2 separate regions of the Homo sapiens genome follow, and region 2 is linked to region 1. The links are contacts of gene promoters, found by promoter capture Hi-C in human tissues and cell types (Jung and others, 2019). All regions are on one chromosome and are shown on one strand. Each heading gives the region's core, a stretch centred on a gene start or on the middle of the fragment in contact. The rest is flanking DNA. Distances are from core to core; before and after follow the strand shown. Region 1 holds the start of KCNS1 (potassium voltage-gated channel modifier subfamily S member 1). Region 2 holds the start of KCNK15 (potassium two pore domain channel subfamily K member 15).

The links. Contacts are between HindIII fragments. The study calls those that stand out against the background at their distance.
Region 2: the fragment with the promoter of KCNK15 here is called in contact with the fragment with the promoter of KCNS1 in region 1 in 1 of the 25 tissues and cell types used here (lymphoblastoid cells).

Annotation. Positions count from the first base shown.
Region 1 is chr20:45,098,239-45,104,564 of GRCh38, reverse strand. It overlaps KCNS1 (potassium voltage-gated channel modifier subfamily S member 1), which reads left to right and starts at 3,438. Exons shown (of 4, transcript NM_001322799.2): 1 at 3,438-3,644; 2 at 5,326-5,404; 3 at 5,870-6,326. The coding sequence starts at 5,329. The HindIII fragment of the contact is 6,202 bases long and covers 1,764-6,326 here.
Region 2 is chr20:44,744,234-44,750,265 of GRCh38, reverse strand. KCNK15 (potassium two pore domain channel subfamily K member 15) reads right to left here and starts at 4,401. Exons shown (of 2, transcript NM_022358.4): 1 at 4,073-4,401; 2 at 1-137. The coding sequence starts at 4,355. KCNK15-AS1 (KCNK15 and WISP2 antisense RNA 1) reads left to right here and starts at 4,039. Exons shown (of 5, transcript NR_132377.1): 1 at 4,039-4,301. The HindIII fragment of the contact is 14,439 bases long and covers 1-6,032 here.

The sequences.
Region 1 (6,326 bases), core at 2,189-4,688:
CACAGTTTCTATGGGTCAAGAACACGGGCACAGTTTAACTGGGTCTTCTGCTTCAGTTTCTCTGCTTCACGAGACTGCACTCGAGGGGTCGGCCATGGTGGGAGTCTCATCTGAGCCTCAATTAGAGAAGGATCCACTTTCAAATTCACAGGGTTGTTGGCGGAATGTCAGTTCCTTGAGGACTAATGAAGTGAATACCGCAGCTCCTGGCTGGTTGTTGGCTGGAAGTCCTCCTCATTTTCTTACCTTTCCCGCCTGGCAACTTGTTTCATCAAAGCCAGCTGGAAGTCACAACCTTAAGTAACCTAATCAGAGAAGTGACATCCCATCACTTTTGCCATATTCTGTTCATTAGAAGCAGCTCAGTAAGGCCTGTCCACACACAAGGGGAGGGGATTGCACAAGGGCATGAACACCAGGAGGCCGACATCACTGGGAGACATCTTAGAAGATGCCCGTCACATCCAGGTCTACTTAATTCCAAAATTTTCTGTATTTTCTGCAAAATCAAGCTTACTCTGAAGGTAAAACCCCATGGATTCCAATGACTAAACCTGGTCAGGGACTGAGGGAGAATTTGGGGGACAGACCATCCATGGTACATGAAGGACAGGGATGCCCCGTCCTTCCCACCCATAAGGCCCACCTTCCCACTCTTGTGGCTCACAGATTCCACCAAAACTTCATTTACCTCTCACTGTGTAATCTGGGGATGAAACCAGATCCTGGTTTCATTCTCTTCTGCCTTTGGGAAATAGGTCTGTCTTTTCTCTCAATTTTGGAAACCGTCTCTGCAGCTCCAGGGAAAACTCCTGAGTCCTGAGGGGTAGCAAAGGCTGCAGACAAACTCTTAGGCCAGGAAACAGAAGACCTGCTTCTCGGCAAATCTGCCTCAGTTTCCCTGTTGGTCAAATGAGGGAATTGGGCAAGATGCTCACTAAGCAGCTTCCTGCTCTAACTTCTTCTTTCGAGGGAAAAACTAAAGTGGCACAGCCTAGGGCTGTGCTGTCTAATATGGCAGCCACGAGCCATGTGTGGCTACCGAGCACATAAAATGTGACTAGTCCAAACTGAGATATGCTATAGATAAATCTCAAAAAATCTCTCTCAAAAAATAAAAAATAAAATAAATTAGTACACTAGATTTATATATGGGAGGCAGAATTCAGATGACCCCTCCTCAATGATCCTCATCCCTGTATAATCTCCTCCTCTTTAAGTGTAGGTGGAACCCGTGAATGTATATTATATGGCAGAAGGGAGAGTGCCCTGGGTGGGCCTGGACTAATCAGGTGAGAGTTTTAAAGCCAGAGATTTTTCTCTGGCTGGTTACAGGAGAGGAATTCAGCACTCTGATGTCCCTGAAAGAAAGCAAGCATTCATGCTATGAACTGCCTATGGGGCAGCTTCTAGAATCTGAGATTGATCCCTCGGAGACAGCTAACAGGAAAAGAGAGACCTCAGTCCTATAACCACAAGGAAATGAATTCTGCCAACAATCTGTGAGCTTGGAAGAAAACTCTGAAGCTCACATGAGAACCTCAACCCTGGCCAACACCTTGGCTTCAACCTGGTGAGACCCTGAGGGTCCAGCCAGGCCATGCCCAGACTTCTGACCTACAGAAACCATGAGATCATAAATTTGTATTGTTTTAAGCTACTAAATTGTGGTAATTTGTTATGTAGCAATAAGAAAAATTAGTACTGGATTTTAGAGACTTAGTACAAAAAAAAGAAAATGTAAAATATCTCAATAATTTCTTTACTGATTCCAATGTTGAAATCATAATATTTTAGATTTAATAAAATATATCACTAAAAATACAGTTGATCCTGAAACAACACGAGTTTGAACTGCTAGTGTCCACTTACATGCAGATTTTTTTCCAATAAATACATTGGAAAATTTTTGGAGATTTGTGACAATTTGAAAAAACTTACAGATGAACCATGTAGACTAGAAATATCAAAAGCCTTAAGAATAAGTTAGATATGTCGTGAATGCCTAAGATATATGTAGATACTATTTATGTGTCAATCGACTGTTTATATTATTGGTAAGGTTTCTGGCGAACAGTAAGTTATTACTAGTTAAGTTTCAGGGGAGTCAAAAGTTATATTCTAATTTTCTAGGCATGGAGGAGTGGTTTCCCTAACCCCCACTGTTTAAGGGGTAACTGTAATTTCGCCTGTTTTTTACTTCTTTAAAATGTTGCAATCAGAAATGTAAAAGGACATATGTGGGCCGGACGCGGTGGCTCATGCCTGTAATCTCAGCATTTTGTGAGGCCAAGGCAGGTGGATCATTTGAGGCCAGGAGTTCAAGACCAGCCTGGCCAACATGGTGAAACCCCTTCTGTACTAAAAATACAAAAATTAGCTGGGCATGGTGGTGCATGCCTGTAATCCCAGCTACTCAGGAGGCTGAGGCAGGAGAATCGCTTGAACCCAGGAGGCGGAGGTTGCAGTGAGCCAAGATTGTGCCACTGCACTCCAGCCTGCAACAGAGTGAGTGAGACTCTATCTCAAAAAATCAAAAATAAAATAAAATAAAATTATATATGTGGCTCACATTATAGGTGTTGGACTGTGCTGGCCTAGAGGACTCAGAAGTCAGCCATGGGACCTCCGGCAAGTCACCACACCTCTCAAAGCAGTTCTTATCTGTGAGATAGGAATAATAGTAGCACTTACCCCACAGATAAATTTGCAGTTTGAGTGAGATTGAGGTCTGTGCTTGACCCAAGGTAAGTACTCAATAAACGTTGGTAATTATCATTATTATTAATAACAATATGTGCAAAGGCTCATATCCAGGCCCTAGTCTCCAGGAGCCTCTCCCCAACCAGGCACACAGCAGCCACACAACAGGTACATGTGTGGGGATTTCACAACCTCTACAAAGCTCTTTGGCACATGTTCTCTGCCCTCACAACCCACTTGGCAGGTGGGAATCAGGAACCCGTGGGCAGGTAAGGACACTGCGCCTCAGGGGTAAAATGATCGTTTCAAGCTTCACAACTCACCTAGGAAGAACCTGGGGCTCCAAGGGAGATGAGGCCACCTTCTACAGCTCCCTAACTCAGATGCCCACGGTCTGAGAAAATGACTGGAGCTCACCCCTAAAATGGGCGACATAAGATCCTGGCCCTGTCAAGTGTGTGTGCCAGGAATAACTGAGATCAATCACTTGCAGCAGCTGAAGTACCCTGGCACATACTAAACACTCAATTAAGTAAATCATGATTACTGTTGTTCCTTTGCCAGAGAAGCTTCTGCTGAAATCCCTCTCTACGGGGAATCCTCACGCCCTAAATGACCCCTCCTTCCCGGCCCGTAACTCCGGAGGATGCCCCTGCAGGTAGGCCCAGTCTCCAGACACCACCACCCCCCAGCCGAGTCAGGAATAGAAACCGCCGCCTCCGGCCGCCAGCGGCCTCACTCCCTCCTCCGGCAGCGATCGATGCGGCCTTCAGCCGCGGGGGACTAGGCAAGGAAGAAGGAAGGAGAGGGCAGCGGGGCCGCCTGCAGCAGGAGGCTCGGCGGGGCCGGCGGGGCAGAGGCGAGACCGAGTATAGCCAGCGGCTCCCAGCCTCGGTGGCTTTGGGACAGACACGCGAGGCGCCCGGGAGGTGCCACCACAGGTAAGGGGCCTCCTTTGGGGAGGGACGTGGCTCCGGGACGGTCCCGGGCAGCCAGAGTGGGAGGCGGGGCTGCCTGGGGCTCCTGGTGCTCTTACCCCCTCTAAGAGACCCCCCACCCCCCGCCAAGGAGGAAGCAGTGTGGGGTGGCCGCGCTTTGGAGACCCTGGCTGGTACAGTTTGCTCATCTGTAAAATGGGATTAGAAAACCTCCCTGGCAGGGTTGGTGTAGGGATTAAACCGAGTGAGGTGTGCATGGAGCCCAGAGGAGTGACTAGCAGATAGGAGGTGCTCAAAATAAGTGTGTGGAGAGAGAATGAAATAAAAAAACCTGGTCTCCAACCTTAGCTGTGCCATGGACTAGCTGGGTGATTTTGAACAAGTCACTTGGTCTTTCTTACTGATATTCAGGTTCTTGTCAGAAAATGTTTGTTGAATTAATTATCCTGTTTCATAGAGCAGGAAAGTGAGCTCCTGATGGATGAAGGGATTTGCCCAATATTATGCTTCTAATGGGTGATGGAACTGGATTAGAAATTTCATTTTTTGATGCCAAATGCAGGTGGAGATCCAAGTGGAGGTGGGAGCGGAGCTACATCACACGTTTATTGTGCATTGATTATGTGCCAGGGACCATGCTGCCGATAAACACCTTGCATCATTTAATTCTCTGAGCCTCTCCTGGAAAGTATGATGCTACCCGGTTCCACAGACAGGGAAACAAGCCCAGAGAGGGCGACGAATGCACTCAAGGACAGCAGCTAGTAAGTGGTAGACTCAGGTCTGACCACAGGGAAGTACACAGGATTAACATTTATTGAGCATCTACTGTTTTCCCAGGGCTTTGACATATACCACAATAATGATGCATCCAAAGCAACATTATCCCCATTCTAGAGGTAAAAGAGCTAAAGCCCAGAGTGGGAAGGAGACTGGCCTGAGGTCACACAAGTGATAGAGCTAAGGGTGGAACCCCAAATCCATTTAATGCCAAGCCCAGGTGCTTTACACACACTTAATCCCTAGTCTAGGCATTACTGAACCCACAGTGCAAATGAGATTGCCAGTGGTGAGGAGGTGTCACTAGCCCCCAATTCCAGCAGAGTCAGGAGTCAGTGGGTAGTGGAAGAACCTAAATCCTTCCTGAGTATCCACTAAGGCTGAGCACTTTCTATAATCTACCTTAATCCTCCAGTCATCCCTGGAGGTAGGTGCTATTATCTACGTTGTGCAGGAAATTGAGACCTGGAGGACAAATAGCTTCCTCAAGGCCCCAGGTGCGTCAGGGGTGGAGATAAACCCAGGTTTGCCTGACTCCAGAAGATAGTGACACCAGTGAATAATTTATTAAATTCCTTCTGTGAGCCAAGCCCAAGAAAGACACTAGGTCATTTAATCTTCATAACCACACTTTGAGGTGAATATTTTTATTTCCATTTCACAGAGGCTCAGAGAGGTGATGTTACTTGCCTAAGGTGACACAAGAGAGTCAAGATTCAAGGTCAGGTCTGGCTGACTCTACAGATGCTTTACATAATCTAAAGCAGGAGCTCTCAAACTTGACTATGTAGCCGAATCACTTTCCAATCTTGTTAGAACACAAAGTGCTAGACCCCACCCTTAGAGTTCCCGATTCAGTAAATCGATGGCAGGCTGAGAATTTGCATCTTTGACAAATTCCCAGGTGATGCTGATGCTGCTGGTCCGGGGAACACACTATGAGAACCTCCGGTCTAAAGTGGTGCTGCCAACACCCCTAGGAGGTAAGTGTTACTATCCTCATTTTGCAGAAGAAACAGGTTCAGAGGGCTGGCGGGCCCAAGATCCCACAGTAGACCTTTGGTGTAAATAAATCCAAGTTTGTCCTGGAAAAGGAGACATCCTATGTGAGCACCCACTAGGTGCCAGGACATCCTGCGATTCCATCGCTTTCATATCCTTCCAGGTAGATCTCAGCATTTACTTTCCAAAGGAGAAAAATGAAATGGGGGTGGGGTGGGTCAGTGATTTGGCCAAAGTCAAATGATGGGGATGAAGGATAGTCAAAGCCAGGCCTGACTCTGAGTCCAGAGGGCACCTGACATCTACTGAGCGCCTCCTGCATACCAGATGCTTCACACACAGCCTCCAACACCCCTTGGCTGGTTGGATGGAGGAGGGGATTTTAACCTGGTCTTCCAGGAAGGGAAGCCCGGGAACTCCTCAGCGCGCCCTTCTGGTGTCCGCAGGGAGGAGCACTGAAACCTTTGTGAGCGAGTTCCCGGGCCCCGACACCGGGATCCGCTGGCGGCGAAGCGACGAGGCGCTGCGCGTGAACGTGGGTGGCGTGCGGCGGCAGCTGAGCGCGCGCGCCCTGGCGCGCTTCCCGGGCACGCGGCTGGGCCGCCTGCAGGCCGCGGCGTCGGAGGAGCAGGCGCGGCGCCTGTGCGACGACTACGACGAGGCGGCGCGCGAATTCTACTTCGACCGGCACCCGGGCTTCTTCCTGAGCCTGCTGCACTTCTACCGCACTGGCCACCTGCACGTGCTCGACGAGCTGTGCGTCTTCGCCTTTGGCCAGGAGGCCGACTACTGGGGCCTAGGCGAGAACGCGCTTGCCGCGTGCTGCCGCGCGCGCTACCTGGAGAGGCGGCTGACCCAGCCGCACGCCTGGGACGAGGACAGCGACACGCCGAGCAGCGTGGA
Region 2 (6,032 bases), core at 3,152-5,651, 360 kb after region 1:
CAGGAGGCGCCGCACCACCGCGTTCAGCCGTTCGCCCAGGCTCTGGAAAGTGACCAGCGTCAGCGGGATGCCCAGGAGCGCGTAGAACATGCAGAAGACCTTGCCGGAGTCCGTACCCGGCGCGGCGTGGCCGTACTCTATGCAGGGAGAGCGGAGGGGAGGGCTGTGAGCGCCCAGCTCCAGCTGACAACAGTCCCGCCCGCAGCCTGCCTGCCCGGCGTGTCCCTCCCCGTCCCCGGGGCTGGAAGGGCATCTCCAAATACTAGTCCTAACTAGGTCATTCATCACCCCAAACTTCAGACAACCCAAGTGTCCCTCGACTGGGGAATGGATAAACAACCTGTGGGGCATCCAAACACCAATTTTTTTCAGCAACTGAATGAACTCCTGTAACTTGCGGCAACCAAGGATGGATCTCAAATGTCTAAGCTGAGTAGAGGAAGACGAGCTCGAAAGCCTACAGACCGCATGGTTCCCTATAAATGACACTCTGGAAATGACAAAACTGTGGCAACAGAGAACAGATCTGTGGTTGCTTGCCAGTAGCTGGGGTTGGGGGCAGGCTTAACTACAGAAGGCATGGTAGAATTTTGGGGGTTGATGGCAATGTTCCGTCTTGACCGTGGCTGCAGTTACGCGGCAGGTGTTCATCTGTCAGGAGTGTACACAGGAAAATGGTGAGTTCTACTGTATGTAAATTATGCCTTGATGAAAAAAAAGCAAAACTTTCCCCACTTTCCAGCTACACCCCGAGCTGCTTCCCCAGTCAGCATGTCCTCTCCACATGCCTTTTCTCCTGACTACCTCCCCCTCCACTGCTCAGCCTGCCCGCACTGAACACCTTTTGGTTCTGATTGTCTGGCGTGGCGATTCTTACTGGGTCCCTTCAACTACTATAGGGAATCTAAACACGACTGGGCAATCTTGAGTCCTGGAACACCGCGCCATTGCAGGGGAATGAATGGGTATCTCATTGTGTGTCTTTTCCTGGAAAGAGGAGCAGTTGCTTTCATGGTATTCTCAAAGGAGCCTGTACGCCAGGAAGAGTCAGGAGGCCAAGAAGAATGCGCCTCCTCTAACAGATTGGCCCTACCTGCCAAAAAGTAAAAAATACAAATCCTTTGACCAAGGTAGTTCCACAGTTAGGAAGTTAGCCCTTCAATATACACACATGAGCAAAAATATGTGTGCACTTGGGTCGTCATTGCAGCATTGTCGGTCATAGCGAAAATGAGAAACAATGTAAGTGTCCATCCAAAGGGGCCTGGTTAAATAAATTATAGTGCCATCCAAACCATGGGATACTACAGAGTAGCAGTTCTCAATCGAGGGTGGTTTTGCCTTTGAGGGGACACTTGGCAACATCTGGAGACATTCTGGTTGTCACAAATGGGGGTGAGGAGTGGGGATGGCTGTGTGCTACTGGCATCTAGAGAGTAGAGGCCAGGGACACTGCTAAACATCTTGCAATGCACAGGACAGTCCCCACAGCCCCAAATGTCAGTAGTTCCAATGCTGAGAAACCCTACAAACAAGATGACGCAGCTCTTTAGAGACTGACATAAAAACATCAACATATATTCTATAAGTGAAAAAAGTAAGAGACAAAACTGTGTGTATAACGTCTATACAATGTGTGTGTTTTAAAGGAATATATAGGCAGAGAATATATCCAGAAGGACACACAAGAAACTGGCAACTGTATTTGACCCAGGAAGAGGAATTTATGAGCTGAGAGACAGGGTGGGAGGGAGAATTCCTTTTCATTCCATACCCTTTTGTGCCCTGTGAAGTGTGTACTGTGTGCATATATAACTTATTCAGAATATCAGCACTACATACATTTAAAGGCCTGTGGCTGCACTTCCACATTTCTGTTGCATAGCCCTATCACTTTGCCTCTCTGTTACTTTTGGGAGAAAGGGGGTCTGCTCATCACTAGACTTTGAGCTCTTTGAGGGCGGGGACGATGGTGGTGTAGTCCCCATCACCAAGGTCCTGCACAGAGCCTGACGTAGACCAGAAGCTCAATGAGAGTTTATTGAATCAAACCAAGCTGAAGGGGGTGCTGGTGAGAAACAGAAGAGTCTCTTTAGGAATAAAAGGCTTCCAGCTGTTTGGGACTGTGCCAGGTTTTGGCAGAGAGTGAAATGAATAATGATAATAACTAATAATGACAGTAACTAACCCATGTATGTACTCTGCATGGATTATCAGATTTAACCCTCCCAATGACTATATGACATGTTGTTATTCCCATTTTATAGATAAGAAAACTAGGTTCAGAGGGACAAAACTGCCCAAAGGCCACAGGCCTGAGCTATTAACCAGCACCCTCCACAGGCCTGAGCTATTAACCAGCACCCTCCATGGGCCTGAACTATTAACCAGCACCCTCCACGGGCCTGAGCTATTAACCAGCACCCTCCACAGGCCTGAGCTATTAACCAGCACCCTCCATTGCTTCAGTGCCTCTCTCCCATCCAAGCAAAGCCCAAATTCCTGGGGCCTGGCACCTGGCTCTCTGCAAGGCTGGCTTCAGCGGACTAGACCACAGAGGGTGGTGGTGCCCCCAAGTGGCCAGAAAAGGCAAAATTCCTCCTGTTTCCACTTGAGTCTCTTACATCAGCCTCCCAGACGTACCTCAGAGGTAAAGAACCAGGGTAAGAGGCCAAAACCACATGGCAAGCCTCCAAAGAATGTAGATAAAGGCAGAGAGAACAAGTTGATGGCATCCCAGACCAGTGGGCACGGTAACCAGGAGGGTCTCAGGTGTACCAAGATAGGAAGCAGGGGTGTCCATGTGGACAGGAGGGGGCAAAAGAGCTGAATAAGAGCTGGAGCCACGTTGGCAAATAATGAATTATTACAAATGAATAGTGCCTACTTGGCTTCAGGCACTGTGCCAAGCATGTTACATGCTTGACCTCACTGAAACCTGGCAGTCACCCAGTGAGGTAGGAACAATTGCATTTTGCCTTTGGGGAAACCAGGGCTTGGACAGGTGGAATCAATTGCCAGAGAAGGCAGGTGGCAATAGAGATGAGACCAGAACTCCAGTCTCTGTGATTCCAGAACTCATACTTTTAACTCCACTGCAAAAACCACAGCTCATATTCACTTGCAAGAGCATTATGGGGAAACTTTCTCCAAGGCACTGGCTTTCGGACTGGTGATCCAAGCCCCAGGGGGGGTGCCGGGACGTTCACAGCTGGAGCCTGGGGAGTGGCTGGCACCAAGCCTGGAGCCCTGCAGAGCCCACTTCTCTCCTTCCTGTTCCCCCAGGTTTAGGCTCAGCAGGTACCAGCCAGATGGTAGTCATGGCAACAGCTGGTGGTCCAGATGCTCCAAAGGAACTGCTCTGCATCCCTGAGGGCAGAGTCCAGAGCCTGTGGTTATCAGTCATTCCTTTAACAAGTATTTATTGATCATCTACTGCATGCTAGGCACGGGTCATACAGCAGTCCCTAAGACAGACTGGGTCCCCATTCTCATGGGGTAACAATAACAATTGCAATAATAAAAAAATGATCTTTTCTTTGTAGTGCTCTGTATGTGTCATGTTTTAGCACAGGCCTTGTCTGTGCATAGTCTGTCTCCTGAATAATAACTCTCACCACAGCCCTGAGATAAGGCCGATTAGCGACACTATTTTACAGAAGAGAAAACTCTGGCTCAGAGAGGTTGAGCAACTCGTCTAAGGTCACACAGCAAGTGTGAGGCAACCAGGCAAGGAAAAGCAAATCCAGCCACTTGGTCTCCCAGCCCCGCTTCACCTATCTCCAAGCCCCTTGGACGTTTTCTGAGCACTCCTGGGTCAGCCTTTTGGCAAACTCGATTTACTGATTCCTCCCGTCCCTGCCTGCGTGGGCTGACAGCTCCATTCAGCAGAGGGGGGCAAAGGAGACCAGGGAGACGAGGGAGGCGAAGGAGATGAGGGAGGCTCGGTGAGCCGAAATGACCCGTCCAAAGTAGCTCAGCTGGGCGGGGGCAGAGGTGGGACCGAAACCCAGAGGCGCCCCGGGACGGCTGGGGCTGGAGCGGGCGCGGAGGGAGGCTCCGGGCGGCTCACCGATGGTAGTGATGACGGTGATGGCGAAGTAGAAGGAGCCGGGGAACTTCCACTGGCGGCCGGCGCGGTGGGGCTCAGCCTGGAGCGCCAGGCGCTCCAGCTCGCGGTAGTCCTCGGCCGAGAAGCCGAACTTCCTCCGGAGAGCGCCCCGCTTCTGGACCAGCAGTCGCTGGCGGCCGCTTTCCGCCTCGGACTCGAGCGCGTCGAAGACAGCAGCGCCCACCAGCAGGTAACACAGGGTGCACAGGACCAGCCCGGCCGCGCGCACGCTCGGCCTCCGCATGGCGCCCCGGCCCCGGTACCCGCCGCGGTCCCAACCTGCTCCGTGTGCCCGGACCGCGCGCTCCGCCCCCTCCAACCCCGGCCCCACGCGGCAGGGTTGTGACGGGCGAGGCGGGGCGACTGCCGGGAACCTGGAGGCTGGGATCGCCACGGGTGGGGGCCGGAAGAACCGCTCCCCTGTCCGCCTCCCACTCGCCTGCCCGGGGTTCATGTGTCTGTGAATAGTGAGATCTGAAGCAAAGGCCCAAACCCCGGGCCTGCAGAAGTCCTGTTCCCGCCACTAACTCATGTTGTGACCTCGTGCCAGTCTTCCGTCCTTCCTTCCGTCCTTCCTTCCTTCCTTTTTCCCTCCCTCCCCTCCCCCCTCCCCTCCCTTCCTCCCTCCCTCCCTCCTTTCCTTCCTTCCTTCCTTTCACTCCTTTCCCCATCCCTCCCTCCCTTCTTCCCTCCCATCCTTCCTCCCTCCGTCCCTCCCTTCCTCCCTCCGTCCCTCCCTTCCTCCCTCCGTCCCTCCCTTCCTCCCTTCGTCCCTTCATCTCTTCTTCCCTTCCTTCTCTCCTTCCTTCCTTCTTTCATTCAGTCAGTCAATCCTCTGACAAATATTTACCAAGCACCTACTGGTGCAAACAACATTCCTGTTGTAAGTAAAAGTGATATCCTAGTGAGGAGGGCCAGCTAACAAACAAGAAACTAATTTAAGACAGGAGTGAGAAAGAAGGAAAAGGGATAGTTTCTTGGGGAAGGTGAACCCCACCATCTAAGGTGGTGCTTAAAACAGAACTGAGCATGACTTGGCAGCCAGAATAGCAGAGGAGCCGGTGTCGCTGGAGCCCAGAGAACTGGGGGGCAGATACTTTGGGGGAGCAGAAGGAAGGCAAAGAGGCAACTTCACACAGGGTCTTACAAGCCCTTATGTGGGTTTATTGAAAGCCATGGAAAGGCTGTATTACAAACACAGGCAAACAAACACACACGCAACACCACCACAATGATCTGATTCATATTTTTTAAAGAGCCCCTGGCTGTCATGGGGAAAAGGGATGGTGGCTAGGAGTGGAGGCCAGTTCGAAGGCTAGTGTAGTCCAAATGTGTGAAGATGGAGAGAAATGAGGGGATCCGGGATGCACCGGGGAGGTGGAGTTGGGCGCCCAGCTGGCCACATTGCCCAGCCTTTCTTGCACTTAGCAGGGTCTATGTGACCAAGCTTTAGCTCATGGAACATGGGCAGAAGTGACATATGCCACTTCCAGGCCTGGCCCATAAAACCCTGCCCTACACGTGCTCCATCTCTTTCCCCCACCAGACGGCTGAATGCAGAGAACTAAAGTCTTTAGAAGAGAGGGAGCCCACAAGGTGGGAAAAACCTGGGGCTGAATGACACATTGCAAGGTTGTCCCCCAACCCCCAATCAGGAGCCCCAGTTTTGAGCTTCTGTTGTATTAAGTCGCTGACGTATGTTAAGCCCCTGAGGCCCAGCCTGCCGCCTAGGCCCTCCAGGTCCCAGAGGAGGACATACTTCCATATGGAAGCCGCTAGAAAGGAACTCAGTCCTGCCAATACCTTGATTTGAGCCCAGTGAGACCTGTGTAGCCCTCCACCCTACAGAACTAGAAGATAATACATTTGCCTTAAGCCACTAAGTTTGTAATAACTTATTGCAGTGGCAACAGGGAACTAA